Linked DNA regions of Homo sapiens: region 2 is linked to region 1. Evidence: promoter capture Hi-C in 16 types of primary human blood cells and fetal thymus (Javierre and others, 2016). All regions are on one chromosome and are shown on one strand. Each heading gives the region's core, a stretch centred on a gene start or on the middle of the fragment in contact. The rest is flanking DNA. Distances are from core to core; before and after follow the strand shown. Region 1 holds the start of LMF2 (lipase maturation factor 2). Region 2 overlaps MOV10L1 (Mov10 like RNA helicase 1).

The links. Contacts are between HindIII fragments. The CHiCAGO score rates a contact against its expected background, and 5 or more counts as called.
Region 2: a fragment that was not itself captured here is called in contact with the fragment with the promoter of LMF2 in region 1 in 5 of 17 cell types (monocytes, M0 macrophages, fetal thymus and 2 more); the score reaches 6.9 in monocytes.

What each region holds. Positions count from the first base shown.
Region 1 is chr22:50,505,655-50,513,004 of GRCh38, forward strand. LMF2 (lipase maturation factor 2) reads right to left here and starts at 2,048. Exons shown (of 14, transcript NM_033200.3): 1 at 1,928-2,048; 2 at 1,128-1,381; 3 at 984-1,012; 4 at 631-848; 5 at 381-559; 6 at 20-161. The coding sequence starts at 2,021. It overlaps NCAPH2 (non-SMC condensin II complex subunit H2), which reads left to right and starts at 2,570. Exons shown (of 20, transcript NM_152299.4): 1 at 2,570-2,791. The coding sequence starts at 2,684. RefSeq lists an enhancer at 1,779-1,828 and silencers at 2,049-2,148, 2,819-3,108. The HindIII fragment of the contact is 8,515 bases long and covers 1-4,207 here.
Region 2 is chr22:50,143,233-50,150,582 of GRCh38, forward strand. MOV10L1 (Mov10 like RNA helicase 1) reads left to right here. Exons shown (of 27, transcript NM_018995.3): 18 at 865-1,011; 19 at 2,457-2,578; 20 at 6,383-6,482. Among named protein-coding and RNA genes, the nearest start is that of PANX2, 24 kb to the right of the region's middle. The HindIII fragment of the contact is 7,030 bases long and covers 162-7,191 here.

The sequences.
Region 1 (7,350 bases), core at 798-3,297:
CTGGACAAGTGACACGCACAGGTGGCCGTCTTCTTGCGGCTGCCGTGGCCAGGCTCAGCAGCCAGGTGCTGGTCGTCCAGCAGCGCAGTGGTAAGCACCAGCGTCATCAGGTTGAAGAAGTTGTAGTTGCCGGTGATGATAATCAGGACCTGCAGCAGCACCTGGGGGCGGCCCGCTCTCAGTGCTCCCGGAGACTGACGCCTGGCCCCGTGGCAGGCACCCACCTCCACCCTGCAGGGTGCATCCCTCTGCTACAAGGCCTTCCCAACAGCGGTTGCCAGCTGTCCCCGGGAGCCACGCTGTCCCCAACAGGGCACGCTGAGCAGCGCTGAAGGCCGAGCCCTGTCTGCCTCTCTCTGACAGCTGCGGCCCTCACCCACCTGCGAGTAGAAAGCAGCCAAGCGCAGGCGTCGAATGGGGGCGAAGAACAGGGGCGGCACAGCGATCTCAATTAGGAAGGTGGCCACCACGCTGAGCTTGTGCAGCCAGACCGGCAGGTGGTGTGCGAACCAGGCGGCGGGCGTGGGCAGGCACTGGGTCTCGTAGTGGTAGGTGAGGGCTGCAGGCGAGGGCAGGAGTCAGGGCTGGCCGAGCCCCCAGACTACCCCAGGTCCAGACCGGGCCCCTCACCAGTGAGCCCCCACCACGCAGGGCAGCGGCTGGTCAGCTTGACCACGCCTGAGGCGAACATGAGGCGGAACAGCAGCCATCGCACCAGCCAGAAGGGGAGGTCTTCGTGGGGCAGGGCCCCTGCCTGCCTGCCCTGGGGGGCCTCCTTGCGGTGGGAGGCTGGCCTCAGCGGGGCCACCAGCACGGCCAGGAAGCCAGTCTCTAGCAGCAGGGAGTCCCTATGGGGAGAGCAAATAGCACCAAGAGCCCCTCCCCACACAGCTGCTTCCCTCGGAAAGTCCTCCCAGGAAGGGCAGAGCCCTCCCCCACCCCCTACCCAGCCTCCCACAGCCCCAGGCCCAGCCGTCACTCACCACTGGAAATAAAGGAACACCTGGCCCACCTGCGGAGAGAGGGGCTGTCAGGGAGCGGGTGTGTCTGTGGACTCAGGTAAGGTAGAGGCAGGGGTGGGTGGTGGGGGTTGGAGATAGAGTGAGCTGGTCACAGGTCCCACTTGCCTGGCAGGCTGACAGGTAGGCGGCCCAAAGCAGCAAGTAGATGACAGGGTGGCGCAGTGGGCTCAGCAGCAGGGCTCCCAGGGCCACTAGTGCACCCAGCAGGCTCAGCAGCTCCAGGCCCTGGGCCGTGTCCAGCCCCAGTCTCGGCGCTTCCCACAGCAGCGTCGGGGTCTCCCACAGCTGCTGCCAGCGCCCCTTGCCCTGAGGCCGCAGCGTCCTCCTTGCAGGTAGGATGCCCTCGGGGCCATACAGGCCTGTGGGAGGGCATGTCATGGCCAGGCCCTGGACAGCCCTTGCAGACTAGACTACCTCTGAGTCAGGGCCTGCAGATCCCCCAGCCTAGGTCAGAGCATGCGGATACCTCCATCCCTAGGTCAGAGTCTGCAGTCCCTCCAGAGCCCGTCCCCCAGGTCGGGACCTGTCAAAACCCCGTCCCAGGGCTAGAGGCCTGCTCAACTACCTGAGTCAGGGCCTCCCACCCAGCAGAGCCCACTGCCCTCTTCCAGGTCTCAGCCCGATCTCCTACCTGTCCCACCAGGTCTGGGAGGAAGCCTCTCTCCCACCTCTCTCAGAGTTCTGTCCCCCACCCCAGGTCAGAGTCCAGAGCCTTACGGGAAATGGATCACCGCACACCTTCCTACCCCCACAGCGGCCTGCAGGACACGAACCGCCGCCCCCTACCCCACGCCAAGGCCTGGCCCTCACTCCCAACCCCGGACTGCGTGAGTGCCGGGCACAGAGAAAAGAGGACATAGGGTCCCGCGCCGAGGCTGGGGGTGTCCCACCCTGGGTGCCTTCACCTGGGATTTGCGTGTAGAGGGAAGCGAAAGCAAACATGAAGACGGCCGCCACGCCCTGGAGGAAGAGCTGCCGCGGGAGCCGGGAGCCCGCCATGTCCGCTACGCGGCCCGCTAGAGCAGGGCCCGCCCTCCGCGTCCGCCCGCCCGCGGCAGCCCCAGGCCCCGCCTCCTCACCGCCCCGCCCGCCCAATCCGTGGCAGCCCCAAGCCCCGCCTCCTCGGCCCGCCCGCCCGCCCGCGGCAGTCCCAGGCCCCGCCTCCTCACCGCCCCGCCCGCCCAACCCGTGGCAGCCCCAAGCCCCGCCTCCTCGGCCCGTCCGCCCGCCCGCGGCTGCCCCAGGCCCCGCCTCCTCACCGCCCCGCCCCCCCAACCCGTGGCAGCCCCCAAGCCCCGCCTCCTCGGCCCGCTCGCCCGCGGCAGCTCCAGGCCCCGCCCCACCCCGCCCCGCCCGACCCACGGCGGCCCCAAAAGCCCTCCCGTCCAAACTGGTGGCAGCCCAAAGCTCCGCCCACCCCCCCCTCCCGGAGGCTTCGACCCCGCCCCGCGACTCTTCCGGTGAGCTCCCGCTGCGCGGCGCCGGGGTTCGCCTCTCTGGCTTTTGCCCACGTTACGTCATAGACATGCGCGCGACGCCGCGCCTACGCATTTTCCTGGGCGGGAACAGCAAAATGGCGCCAGAACTAGTGGCGGGCTGAGGACGCCGTACCCCTCGGAAGGCAGCCCTGCGGTCCCTTTGCCGCCCGTTCCCTCCCGGACATGGAGGACGTGGAGGCGCGCTTCGCCCACCTCTTGCAGCCCATCCGCGACCTCACCAAGAACTGGGAGGTGGACGTGGCGGCCCAGCTGGGCGAGTATCTGGAGGAGGTAAGGGCGGCGGGGGAGTGACGCGGGGTGGGCCGGCGGGTGGGGCTGCGGGGCGGGGGCTCCGGGCCCGGGGCTGTGGGCGCCCCACCGTCTCCACGCCTATGGCTATCTGGCGCTCTGGCCGCGCAGGTCCTCGGGCTCCCTGCTTCTTTTCAAACTCCATCTCTGCCTCCCCAAATCATCCCTTGTTGGATTAGCGTGGACCTGTCATTGCAGGTTTCTACCCGTCAGCGAGCCGTGAATGATTGAGTGGGTGGTGACCAGCCGTTTCTCTAACGTAGTGGAATAGACTAGAAAGCATTATTGCTTTTATTGCAGTTATTGCGAGCATGCTTGTGTGTTTGAGAGGTCTGGATCACGATGTCAGAGGAATTTTTTATCTTGGATTTTCAAACCAATTTCAAGCTATTGCCATGCTCTATCCTGTTAGCGATTAGTGTTTCTTCCATGTTTGACAGCCCTGTCTAGACCTGTGTTAAGCTGTCTGCTCCATATTTGCGCTTCATTTTTACTCCTCAGCCCAGCTCAGTCTGGCGTCCACGACACTTAAATGTTTCTTGTCTTGATCAGCAGTGATCTCCATTCTACCAAATCCAAGGGACATAAGTCAGCATTTGTTGGACTGGCCACTCCTTTCTTTTTGAAACATGGTGGTAGGATTTTTTTTCCCTATTTCATTGCCTGATTTTTCTTTTCTATCCAGTCTCTAAGTGTTGAGTTCCTCAGGATGGGGCCTAGGTCATCTTCTGATGCATTTACCCTGAAGTGTCATTTATTTCTATGATTTTAAATATTGCCTGTATTAGGACAACTACCAGATCTGCAGCTCCATCCTAGATCTTTCCTCCAAATCTACTTTACATATCCAGCTGCTCTCTTGACATCTAGTGGGTGTCACGCAAACATCTCATTTAACATATTTAAAGTGGAACTCTTCATTTTTCTGCTTAAACCCCAGCTTTTCCCATCTCGGAAAATGACACCGCTGTTCAACCAAAAGCAAAAGCTAAATGTGGCTATAGTGAAGCCCCATGCTTAACACTCAGTTCATCCATGAATTCCATCAGTTATACCACCGGAATATCACTTGAATTCATCTGTTGTCCATTTTATTTGGTCTAGGCCACCATTGTCTCTGGCCTGGATTTGTGTAAAACCTTCCTATTTGGGTTCCCTTATCCCTGTTTTTGTCCCGTCCAATTCGTGCTCCAACCAGCAGCAAGTGTGACTCTTAAAAATTAAAATCTGGCCACAGCACTGTTTTCTGCCTAAAATCAACCCCTCAGTGGCTTTCCATTATGCCCAGAATAAAACCCAAATTTCCTTCTCTGAACCTGGCTCTGCTCTCCATTTTAGCCTCATTTTGGGCTGTTTTGTATCTTGTTCTTTTGAACCAGTCAACCTATGGCCCCTCCAAGCTTTTTCTTGGTGGAAGATCTTCATGCTTTCTGCCCCCACTTGGGAATCTTCTTTTTTGTTTTTATTTATTTATTTATATATTTTGAGACGGAGTCTCACTCTGAGACGGAAGTGCAGTGGCGCGATCTGAGCTCACTGCAAGCTCCGCCTCCTGGGTTCACATCATTCTGCCTCAGCCTCTGCAGTAGCTGGGACTACAGGCGCCCGCCTCCACGCCCAACTAATTTTTTTGTATTTTAGTAGAGACAGGGTTTCACCGTGTTAGCCAGGATGGTCTCGATCTCCTGACCTCGTGATCCGCCTGCCTTGGCCTCCCAAAGTGCTGGGATTACAGGCGTGAGCCACCGCGCCCGGCCTCTTTTTTGTTTTTAAATAAAGAGGGACTTCATATGGCAAGGAAAAGGAGAAAAAAAAAATCAGAGAGGAGGATCTTACTGTGTTGCCCAGGCTGGTCTCAAACTGCTGTGCTCAAGCAGTCCTCCTGCCTCAGCTTCTCAGGTAGCTGGGACTATAGCTGTGCACCACCACACCTGGCTGGGAATATTCTTTCAATGACTGAGTTTGTTTTCTTTTCTTTTTTTGAGATGGAGTCTTGCTCTGTTGCCCGGGCTGGAGTACAATGGCAGAATCTTGGCTCACTGCAACCTCCGACTCCCAGGTTCAAGCAATTCTCCTGCCTTGGCCTCCCGAGTAGCTGGGATTACAGGCATGCACCACCACGTCCAGTTAATTTTTGTATTTTTAGTAGAGATGGGTTTCGCCACATTGGCCAGGCTGGTCTCAAACTCCTGACCTCAGGTGATCCAGCCAGCTCTGCCTCTTTCCAAAGTGCTGGGATTACAGACGTGAGCCACCACGCCTGGCTGACTGAGTCCTTTTCATTCTTAAGGTCTTAGTGTAAATGTCAGCTGACCACCCTATCTAAAATAGTCCTCTCCATCTCAGCACCTTACACACTTTAGAATGTTTATCATAAACCATTTAAATTTTTTTTTTTTTTGAGATGGAGTCTTACTCTGTCGCCCAGGCTGGAGTGCAGTGGCATGATCTCAGCTCACTGCAAGCTCTGCCTTCTGGGTTCACGCCATTTTCCTGCCTCAGCTTCCCGAGTAGCTGGGACTACAGGCACCTGCCACCACACCCGGCTAATGTTTTGTATTTTTAGTAGAGACGGGGTTTTACCGTGTTAGCCAGGATGGTCTCGATCTCCTGACCTGGTGATCCGCCCGTGTCGGTGTCCCAAAGTGCTGGGATTACAGGCATGAGCCACCGCGCCCAGCCAAAAAAAATTTTATTTATTTATATGTTTTTTTTTTGAGATGGAGTCTCACTCTGTCACCCAGGCTGGAGTGCAGTGGTGCAATCTCAGCTTGCTGCAGCCTCCACCTTCTGGGTTCAAGCAGTTCTCCTGCCTCAGCCTCTTTTTTTTTTTTTTTTTTTTTTGAGACGGAGTCTCACTCTGTCGCCCAGGCTGGAGTGCAGTGGTGCAATCTCGGCTCACTGCAAGCTCCACCTCCTGGGTTCACACCATTCTCCTGCCTCAGCCTCCCGAGTAGCTGGGACTACTGGCACCCGCCACCACGCCCGGCTAATTTTTTGTATTTTTTTAGTAGAGACGGGGTTTCACCGTGTTAGCCAGGATGGTCTCGATCTCCTGACCTCATGATCCACCCGCCTCGGCCTCCCAAAGTGCTGGGATTACAGGCCTGAGCCACCGCGTCCGATCCTGCCTCAGCCTCTTGAGTAGCCGGGATTACAGGCGCCTGCCACCACGCCTGGCTAATTTTTTTTTTTTTCTTGAGACAGAGTCTTGCCCTGTGGCCCAAGTTGGAGTGCAGTGGCACAATCTCGGCTCACTGCAAGCTCCATCTCCTGGGTTCGCGCCATTCTCCTACTTCAGCCTCCTCAGTAGCTGGGATTACAGGCGCCCGCCACCACGCCTGGCTAATTTTTTTGTATTTTTCAGTAGAGACAGGGTTTCACCATGTTAGCCAGGATGGTCTTGGTCTCCTGACCTCGTGATCCACCCGCCTCGGCCTCCCAAAATGCTGGGATTACAGGTGTGAGCCACCGTGCCTGGCCCCAGCTAATTTTTGTATTTTTAGTAGAGATGGGGTTTCACCATGTTGGCCAGGCTGGTCTTGAACTCTTGACCTCGTGATCCGCCCACCTCATCCTTTGAAAGTGCTGGGATTGCAGGTGTGAGCCACTGCGACTGGCCACAAGCCATTCTTCAACTCATTTACCTGTTTGTGGCCTGTCTCCACCCTAGAATGTGAATTCTGCCAGGGCAGGGACCATACTTATGCCCTCTTTTGTCTGCTTAGTAGAGTGCCTGGCACATAGGTGTGGACGTTAAAGTGTTTGTTAAATGCACATGTGATCTGATGACCAAACTTCTCTGCTCTCATGCATAGTTGGCTGAGAAAATACGGGGAACTGTGCTGGGCAGAGCTCCTGTGGATTCAGGTTTTCACATCAAGCAGGGTCCATGAGGACACCTGTTCACTTGGTAAATCTCCTTCCTGGCTTGGTCAGCTCCCTTCCTGCTTTCTTATGTCTGCTCTTCCAAACCTCTGCAGCTTGAAGTCCTGATTTCCTGGTTTCTAGTATTATCTTTTTCCTTCTGTCATTTTCCACACACTACCATGATGTTCTTTTTCTTTTTTTTGTCCTTTGTTTTTTTTTTTTTGTTTTTTTTTTTTAGATAGGTTCTTGCCCTGTTGCCCAGGCTAGAGTGCAGTGGTGCAATCATGGCTCACTGCAGCCTCGATCTCCCAGGCTCAAGTGATCCTCCCATCTCCCAAGTAGCTGGGACTGCAGGCATGTGCCACCGCACCTGGCTAATTTTTTGTATTTTTGGTAGAGATGGGGTGTCACTGTGTTGCCCAGGCTGTTCTCAAACTCCCAAGCTCAAGTGATCCACCTGCCTTGGCCTCCCAGAGTGCTGGGATTATAGGTGTGAGCCATTGCACTGGCCAGAATGTTCTTCTAGTACTGTCATGATCCTACTCTCTTTTATCCATTTATTTATTCATTGTTGTTAGTTGTGAATTGTGTGCCAAGAACCATGTTAAACTTTGAAAAAATAGTGCCAAGCAAAGCAAATGATAATCCCCACTATGGTAGGACTTCCTCTG
Region 2 (7,350 bases), core at 2,427-4,926, 360 kb before region 1:
GGCGCCGCGGGTGCTGTGGCTCTGTGCTGCTGTTCATGTGTCGTCTGTGTCTTCAGGAAGTGTGAGTTTAGATTGTAGAATCAGACAGTTGGAAAGAGCTTGAGAAATACCAGTTATTTCATAATGTTAAGTCTGTTTTTGTGGATATGTAGGGATTTAAAAGCTTATTTCATAGGTTTAGAAGGAAACTCATTTTTAGCCTGGTAAACTATTTTATCTGAATCATGACATTTTGCTGCAGAAAAGAAGTTACTCTTATAGTAGCTACAGCCACCATTCCACAGAAGTTTTAGATATCTTCATTTGTAATTGAAGTTAAGTTTATGAAACTATTGTCTACAGATGCTTCTTAACTTTTGATGGGGTTACAACCCAATAACCCATCGTAATGGGATTTGGGAAGCCTGTTTCAGGTTCATCAAGGCATGATCCCTTGTCAGGTGAGGAGCAGACTGACTGGGGATGGTCTTCACACCATCATAAAGTCAAAAAAGCGTTAAGTCAAACCATCATAAGCCGAAGACCATCTACATTTAGCGTCATTCAGGATTCAAATTAGCAAACAGGTATTGAGCGCACAATTGTACCACACGCCAGATGTGTGCAGATGAATCTGACTCTGTTTCTGCCCTGAAAGGTGGTTTAGAATCTTAGAGAGTGCGGAGAACCTTCCCACCTAACCCATGCTTTGGCAGCAGTGTGATGAGGCAGAGTCGTGGCCCAGGTCTCAGTGTGTTGGGGGCTGGCATCTGAGCCCATGCAGCTGAGTCCCTGCACCCGAATGTGTGTGTTGAGGTTAGACTCCTGGTTTCCACCTTGCGGTGTGGATGTTGAGCCTTGGTCTCTTGTGTGTCTTTGATGAAGGTACACTTTGCCTTGCCGGACAGTCGGATTTTAGTCTGTGCGCCCTCCAACAGTGCTGCTGACCTCGTGTGTCTGCGGCTGCACGAGAGCAAGGTGCTACAGCCGGCCACCATGGTCCGGGTGAACGCCACCTGCAGGTTCGAGGAGGTGAGCCCTTGGTGCAAGCAGTGGGGGGCACCAGAACCCCTCCCTGGAACATAGGAAATGCCAAGTGGACAGGGGAGGGCAGGGGTAGGAGGGTGGGCACAGAGGCGCCACAGAAAGCTGTGTTTGAGAAATGGCTCTGCCATGGGCCCTCCCTCACCGCTAAATGGTGGAGCTTGATTGCTGACTATTTCATCACATTCTCACTCTGTGTGAGTTATCACACCTATTGTGGGCATTCGTAGCATTGTAAAATTATCACATTCCTCTTTTATTTAATCCCCAAACGTCTTGTTACTTTTTAAGTAGTTTTGTTTTGTTGGTTTGGTGTTTTTTGTTTTGTTTTGTTTTTTTTTTTTGAGACGGAGTCTCGCTGTGTCGCCCAGGCTGAAGTGCAGTGGCATGATCTCGGCTCACTGCAAGCTCCGCCTCCCAGGTTCACACCATTCTCTGGCCTCAGCCTCCCAAGTAGCTGGGACTACAGGCACCCGCCACTGCGCCCGGCTAATTTTTTGTATTTTTAGTAGAGACGGAGTTTCACCGTGTTAGCCAGGATGGTCTCGATCTCCTGACCTCATGATCTGCCCGCCTCGGCCTCCCAAAGTGCTGGGATTACAGGCGTGAGCCACCGTGCCCGGCCTGGTTTGGTTTTAAGTATTCCTTTAAGTTGCTGGTTTGGTTATAGAGCGAAGTATTGCTTTTATTTTTTTGTTTGTTTGAGACAGAGTTTTTGCTCTTGTTGCCCAGGCTGGAGTGCAGTGGTGTGATCTTGGCTAACTGCAACCTCCGCCTCCCGGGTTCAAGCAATTCTCCTGCCTCAGCCTCCTAAGTACCTAGGATTACAGGTGTGTGCCACCACATCCAGCTAATTTTGTATTTTTAGTAGAGACAGGGTTTCACCATGTTGGTCAGGCTGGTCACGAACTCCTGATCTCAAGTGATCCACCCGCCTCTGCCTCCCAAAGTGTTGAGATTACAGGCTTTAGCCACTGTGCCCAGCCTGAAATATTGCGTTTAAAAAAGACATTGAAAATAGCTGGGCGTGGTGGCATGCGCCTGTAATCCCAGCTACTCCGGAGGCCGAAGCAGGAGAATCACTTGAACCTGGGAGGCAGAGGTTGCAGTGAGCCGAGATTGCACCATTGCACTCCAGCCTGGGCGACAGAGCAAGAGCAAGACTCCCTCTCTAAATAAACAAACAAACAAACTGAATAGAAAATGTACAAAGTTGTTTTGGGGAAGGGTCTGCAGGATTATGTGTTATATTTGTGGCTCTAGAGTTGATAAAACATGGACTGAATTGATAAGGAAGTATGAGATATTTTGAGAAAAAAACCTTAAATCATGACTTAGACGTAACTAAGAAGTGGTACCAGGGCAAGGTTCCCTTTTGGAATTCTGCTTAATAATTGGAGGAGTAAACTAACTCTACGCCTCCTTGCCCCCAGATAGTTATTGACGCCGTCAAACCGTATTGCAGAGACGGAGAAGACATCTGGAAAGCCTCACGCTTCCGGATAATCATCACCACATGCAGCAGCTCAGGGCTGTTTTACCAAATAGGAGTGAGGTGAGCCCCGGGCATGGAGCGCGGCATGGGGCCTCCCAGGGCAGAGGTCGGAGTCCTCTCCTAGCTTCTGTCTGAGGGGCGGATGACCCAGAGACTCAGTGCTCAGGGAGGGAGGCAGGGCTGTGGGCGAGAAAGGCTGGTTGGGGAGGGCCGTGCCTGAATGGAGCTGGGGAAGCCGAGACCCCAAGGACTCGAAGGAGCCAGCAGTGGGATGGGCAGGCAGATGGACTGGCCCATGCAGAGGCCCCGCGGTGGGGGAGCACTGAGGTCTCCCCAAAGGAGACTGTAGAGCCAGAGCCTCGTGAGCAGGAACGGCCTGAAAGGGGTGGTGAGGGGGAGGCCTGGCGGGCTGTGGAGGGGCCTTTGGACGACCTCTGGTGAGCCGGGAAGCCAGTGAAGGGCTTCTGAGCAGGAGAGTGAGTCTCTTGGAGTGGGCGTGGGGAGGCAGGCTGCCTAGGAAACGGCTGGGCTCTGTAAGGTCAGACCCTGGGGGCCATTTGTGTCCCTGGCGCTGGGGGCTCTTCAGGGGAGACAGGCGGAGGAGATGGATTGTGGGGTGCCGGCTGTCATAGGAGGACCTCCCCTGGGGGCTGGGAGGAAGAGCTTCGAGCCCAGGGAGGCTGAGTGAGGACCAAGGCACTCTCAGACCCCAGTGCAGGGGGGTGGGGTCGGGGAGGCAGCAGGCAGCTCCCTCTCAGTGCATAGAGCCAGACAGTGTCGGGGGCACAGGCTGAGGGTGAGAGAGGGAGAAGCCAGGGCCTCTGAGGGAAGCCCCACCCTCCCTGACGGCCTGGAGACAGGTCGCTCTGAACAGTGTCCAGCGTCACAGTGGTCGTGACCCTCCCTGACAGCCTGGAGACAGGTCACCCTGGACAGTGTCCAGCGTCACGGTGGTCGTGAGGGTGACCACAGGAGGTGGTCCGTCAGCTCCACATGGAGCAAAGGCACAGCCAGCCACGCCTATCACAGCGTGTCACGGATGGTTTCATCGGCGCGTTTAACTCTCTCACATACATGATGTCCTTTCATCATGAGATTAGTAGAACGTGATTGATGAGACACTTTACATTTTTTTTGGTTCAAGTCTTCAAAATCCACCATGTATTTTACACTTAGAGCATGTCAGGTTTCAGACTAGCCACTGTGCGGTGCCCGAGAGCCGTGTGTGGCTACCGGATTGGACAGCACGGATCTGAACAAGACAGGGATTTTTTTTGTTAATGTGTGTTGATGAGTCAAAGGTCAAGAGCCGAAGAGCCAGTCCTCACTGGGGTGCAGAGGGCTCTTTGGGGGCAGAGCGGGCACTGCATGGACCCTGCACCCTGGAGCTGATGTTCAGGTAGTGGGAGGAGGTGGCCGGCCAGGGCAGGCCGCTCTCTCAGAGGCACTCTGTGCAGAAGCAGGGAGGGTGCTGCAGGCCGCTCTCTCAGAGGCGCTCTGTGCAGAAGCAGGGAGGGTGCTGCAGGCCGCTCTCTCAGAGGCGCTCTGTGCAGAAGCAGGGAGGGTGCTGCAGGCCGCTCTCTCAGAGGCGCTCTGTGCAGAAGCAGGGAGGGTGCTGCAGGCCGCTCTCTCAGAGGCGCTCTGTGCAGAAGCAGGGAGGGTGCTGCAGGCCGCTCTCTCAGAGGCGCTCTGTGCAGAAGCAGGGAGGGTGCTGCAGGCCGCTCTCTCAGAGGCGCTCTGTGCAGAAGCAGGGAGGGTGCTGCAGGCCGCTCTCTCAGAGGCGCTCTGTGCAGAAGCAGGGAGGGTGCTGCAGGCCGCTCTCTCAGAGGCGCTCTGTGCAGAAGCAGGGAGGGTGCTGCAGCCCAGCTGCAGAGGCCCCACAGCGTTAGTTGGCCACTGGGGGCGGCTGGAGTGGGGAGGGGCACTTCAAAGGGCAAAGAAGTAGCAATGTCATCTGGCAAAAGTGACATTAAATAACTGCAATTAATACAGAATTGAAACCTAAATACTTACATTCTAGGAAAGATACATAATGTTAATTTTTTTCAACAGAAATAGGGACATGAGATGGGGAAATGGCAGTTTGCTGATTTCCACATCTTTCACTGGGAGGGGTTCACGGTGTCACTTGTGAAATCCGTGTCTTGAGAGTTACACATTGATACCTGAAGTGAAAGGTGTCAGCTGACCGTGAGTGGATGCAGGACATGTTGGGCCCAGCACTGCTGTAAGCAGGAGCCCGCCCCCGCACAGGTCTGACCACAGGGTCTCACCCCACAGTGGGACACCTGAGGCTCAGAGGTGATGGATTTGCCCAGCATCTAGGGTTGGAGAGGGGAGATCCTGGAATCAGCAGTGAGAAGGGTAAACGTGGGCTCGGCAGTGAGGACGGTGCGGGCCCAAGGTGCGTCCTGTTGAGTGTTGGCGTGGCTCCGGACACTCTCTCTGCCCCATACCTGCTTCCTCAGGCATCAGGACATGTTTCTGCCCCAAGAGCATTTCCCCACTGAGGCCTCCTGACCACAGAGCAGAAGCTGCTGGGGTGGGCGAGCCAGGGAAGCCGGGGCACCTGTTCCTCAGCTCATGGCCCCAGGTGGGGTGGCCCCTCTGCACTCTAGAAACAGATCATGTGCCGAGCGAGCTCCTGCTCTCCGCTCAGTCCCACAGCCTTCCCATGCAAGAGTTCCGCAGCTTCTCCTGACGACTCCTTCCCGCAAAATCCCCACCCCGTCCATCAGCAACGCTGTGGACTCTCTGCTCCTGCACCTCCCTTACCTCCCTTGTCACACGGAGAAGGAAGAGCCGGACAGGTACCCGCCAGGAGGGCTGCTCTGTAGCTGGGAACCTCACTGAGTTTGCAGCAGGGGCCAGAATTGTGGGGAGCCATTCTAGAGACCGCATTTTCTTTTTTTCTTTTTTTTTTTTTTTTATGAGATGGAGTCTTGCTCTGTCACCCAAGCTGGAGTGCAGTGGCGCGATCTCAGCTCACTGCAAGCTCCGCCTCCCAGGTTCACGCCATTCTCCTGCCTCAGCTTCCCGAGTAGCTGGGACTACAGGCGCCCGCCACCACACCCGGCTAATTTTTTTGTATTTTGAGTAGAGACGGGGTTTCACCGTGTTAGCCAGGATGGTCTTGATCTCCTGACCTCGTGATCCACCCATCTCGGCCTCCCAAAGTGCTGGCATTACAGGCGTGAGCCACTGCGCCCGACCAACCCCATTTTCTTAATGGTGCCGCAGATTGGGAAGTGGCTCCCAGGGCCTCAGCCTATTGGCATGCAGGCCAGGCAGTGCCCAGCTGAGAGTGGCTCACAAGGATGAGTCAGGAGGAAATGAGCGGATGGCAGGAGAGGCTGCCATCTGTGGCCGCCTGCATGGCCAGGCCTGTTCTCAGCGCTTTACAGCGGCCAGTTCAGCTGCTCTCACCTCAGCCACCTCCCGAGAGACACGTGGGAGGTGGAGGCTCAGAGAGGGGAAGTCAGGACTAGAGCCTGGGCATTTTGATAATGACAGGAGTGAGACGCAGGTGGAGAGCAGGCCAGGAGCCTGCGGCGCTTCTCCTGTGAGCTGCCCCCAGGAGGCGCTCGTGTGTTGCCCATCGCTCCCACCCCTTCTTCCCTCCACATCTCTAGAAATACAGACGCTGCGTGCAAAGCACTGGGTGCTGATGTGGCTTAGCATCTCCTGACACCTGTGGCCTGTCCTCCCTCCAGCCGGGTGACACCCAGACCCCCAGCTCCTGCACACCCCTGGGCAACCCTGCTGTGCCCCCGGGGTGCTGAGCGTGGCTTTGCCAGTGTGTCAGAGGCATCAATTGCTAAAACAATTCGGCAGAAATTACCATTTAGAACATCTTTGCTCTAGAGTTGGGCACTTCACTCACGTGTTTGTGGACGAGGCTGGGCAGGCAAGTGAGCCGGAATGCCTCATTCCTCTGGGGCTGATGTCGGACATCAGTGGCCAGGTAAGTCCCGACTACTGTGTGTGCTGCTTCCTCCTCACCCCGTTCTCCTGAGGGGATGCAGGCTGCGATCCTGCCGGGAACAGTCACAGCTGTACAGGGGTCAGGTGGAAGTGCCAAGGACCCCGAGGTGTTGGGGGCCATGGGTCTCTATTGTACTTTATTCCTTTTGGACTAGAAGTGAATGTCTTGACTCATTTACTTGTAAAACGGAGGTAAGAGCCATTCTAGGTGTTGGGGATACAGCGGTAAAGTCAGGAATGTGGTCCCTGCTCTGGGTGAGCCGGCCGTTCAGTGCCTGGAGGGGCGGACAGGGCCAGTGCTCCTGCATCTGACCCACTTGCCCCTCAGGCTGCCCTGGCCTCCAGCTCTGTGCATCCTCTGTTCTCTGCTCCCACCTGCTTCCTCCCCGAGTGCTTCTGATGGTGGCGTGGGCATCACCTTGAACTTCCCTGGTTCTCTCACTGTGGCTCATCCAGGCGAGCTCATCCAGTGTCCAGCACTGGACATTTCAGGGTCCTCCTTGGCACCCATCCTAGATGTCTGTCCCAGTCACCAGGCACTGTGGGGCGGAGCATGAAGGTGACGCCTAGGGAGGGAGCAGGGACTGGTCCAGGCAGAGCAGCGGCATAGGGCGGCCTGACCAGGTCAAGGCAACCATGGGCAAGAGGCAAGGGGCAGGTGGGATGGCGGCCAGGGCCAGCCATGCAGAAGCTTCCAGAAGATAGACGGCATCCTTGGGGCTCTTACCACTTTGAGAGATTCGCAGGAGAGAAAACCAGGCTGCAGAAGCCGGGCAGATGGCAGGACTTCGGGGAGGCAGATGGCAGGACTTCAGGGGGAAGCGGGGAGAGACGGCTCCAAGCCCTGT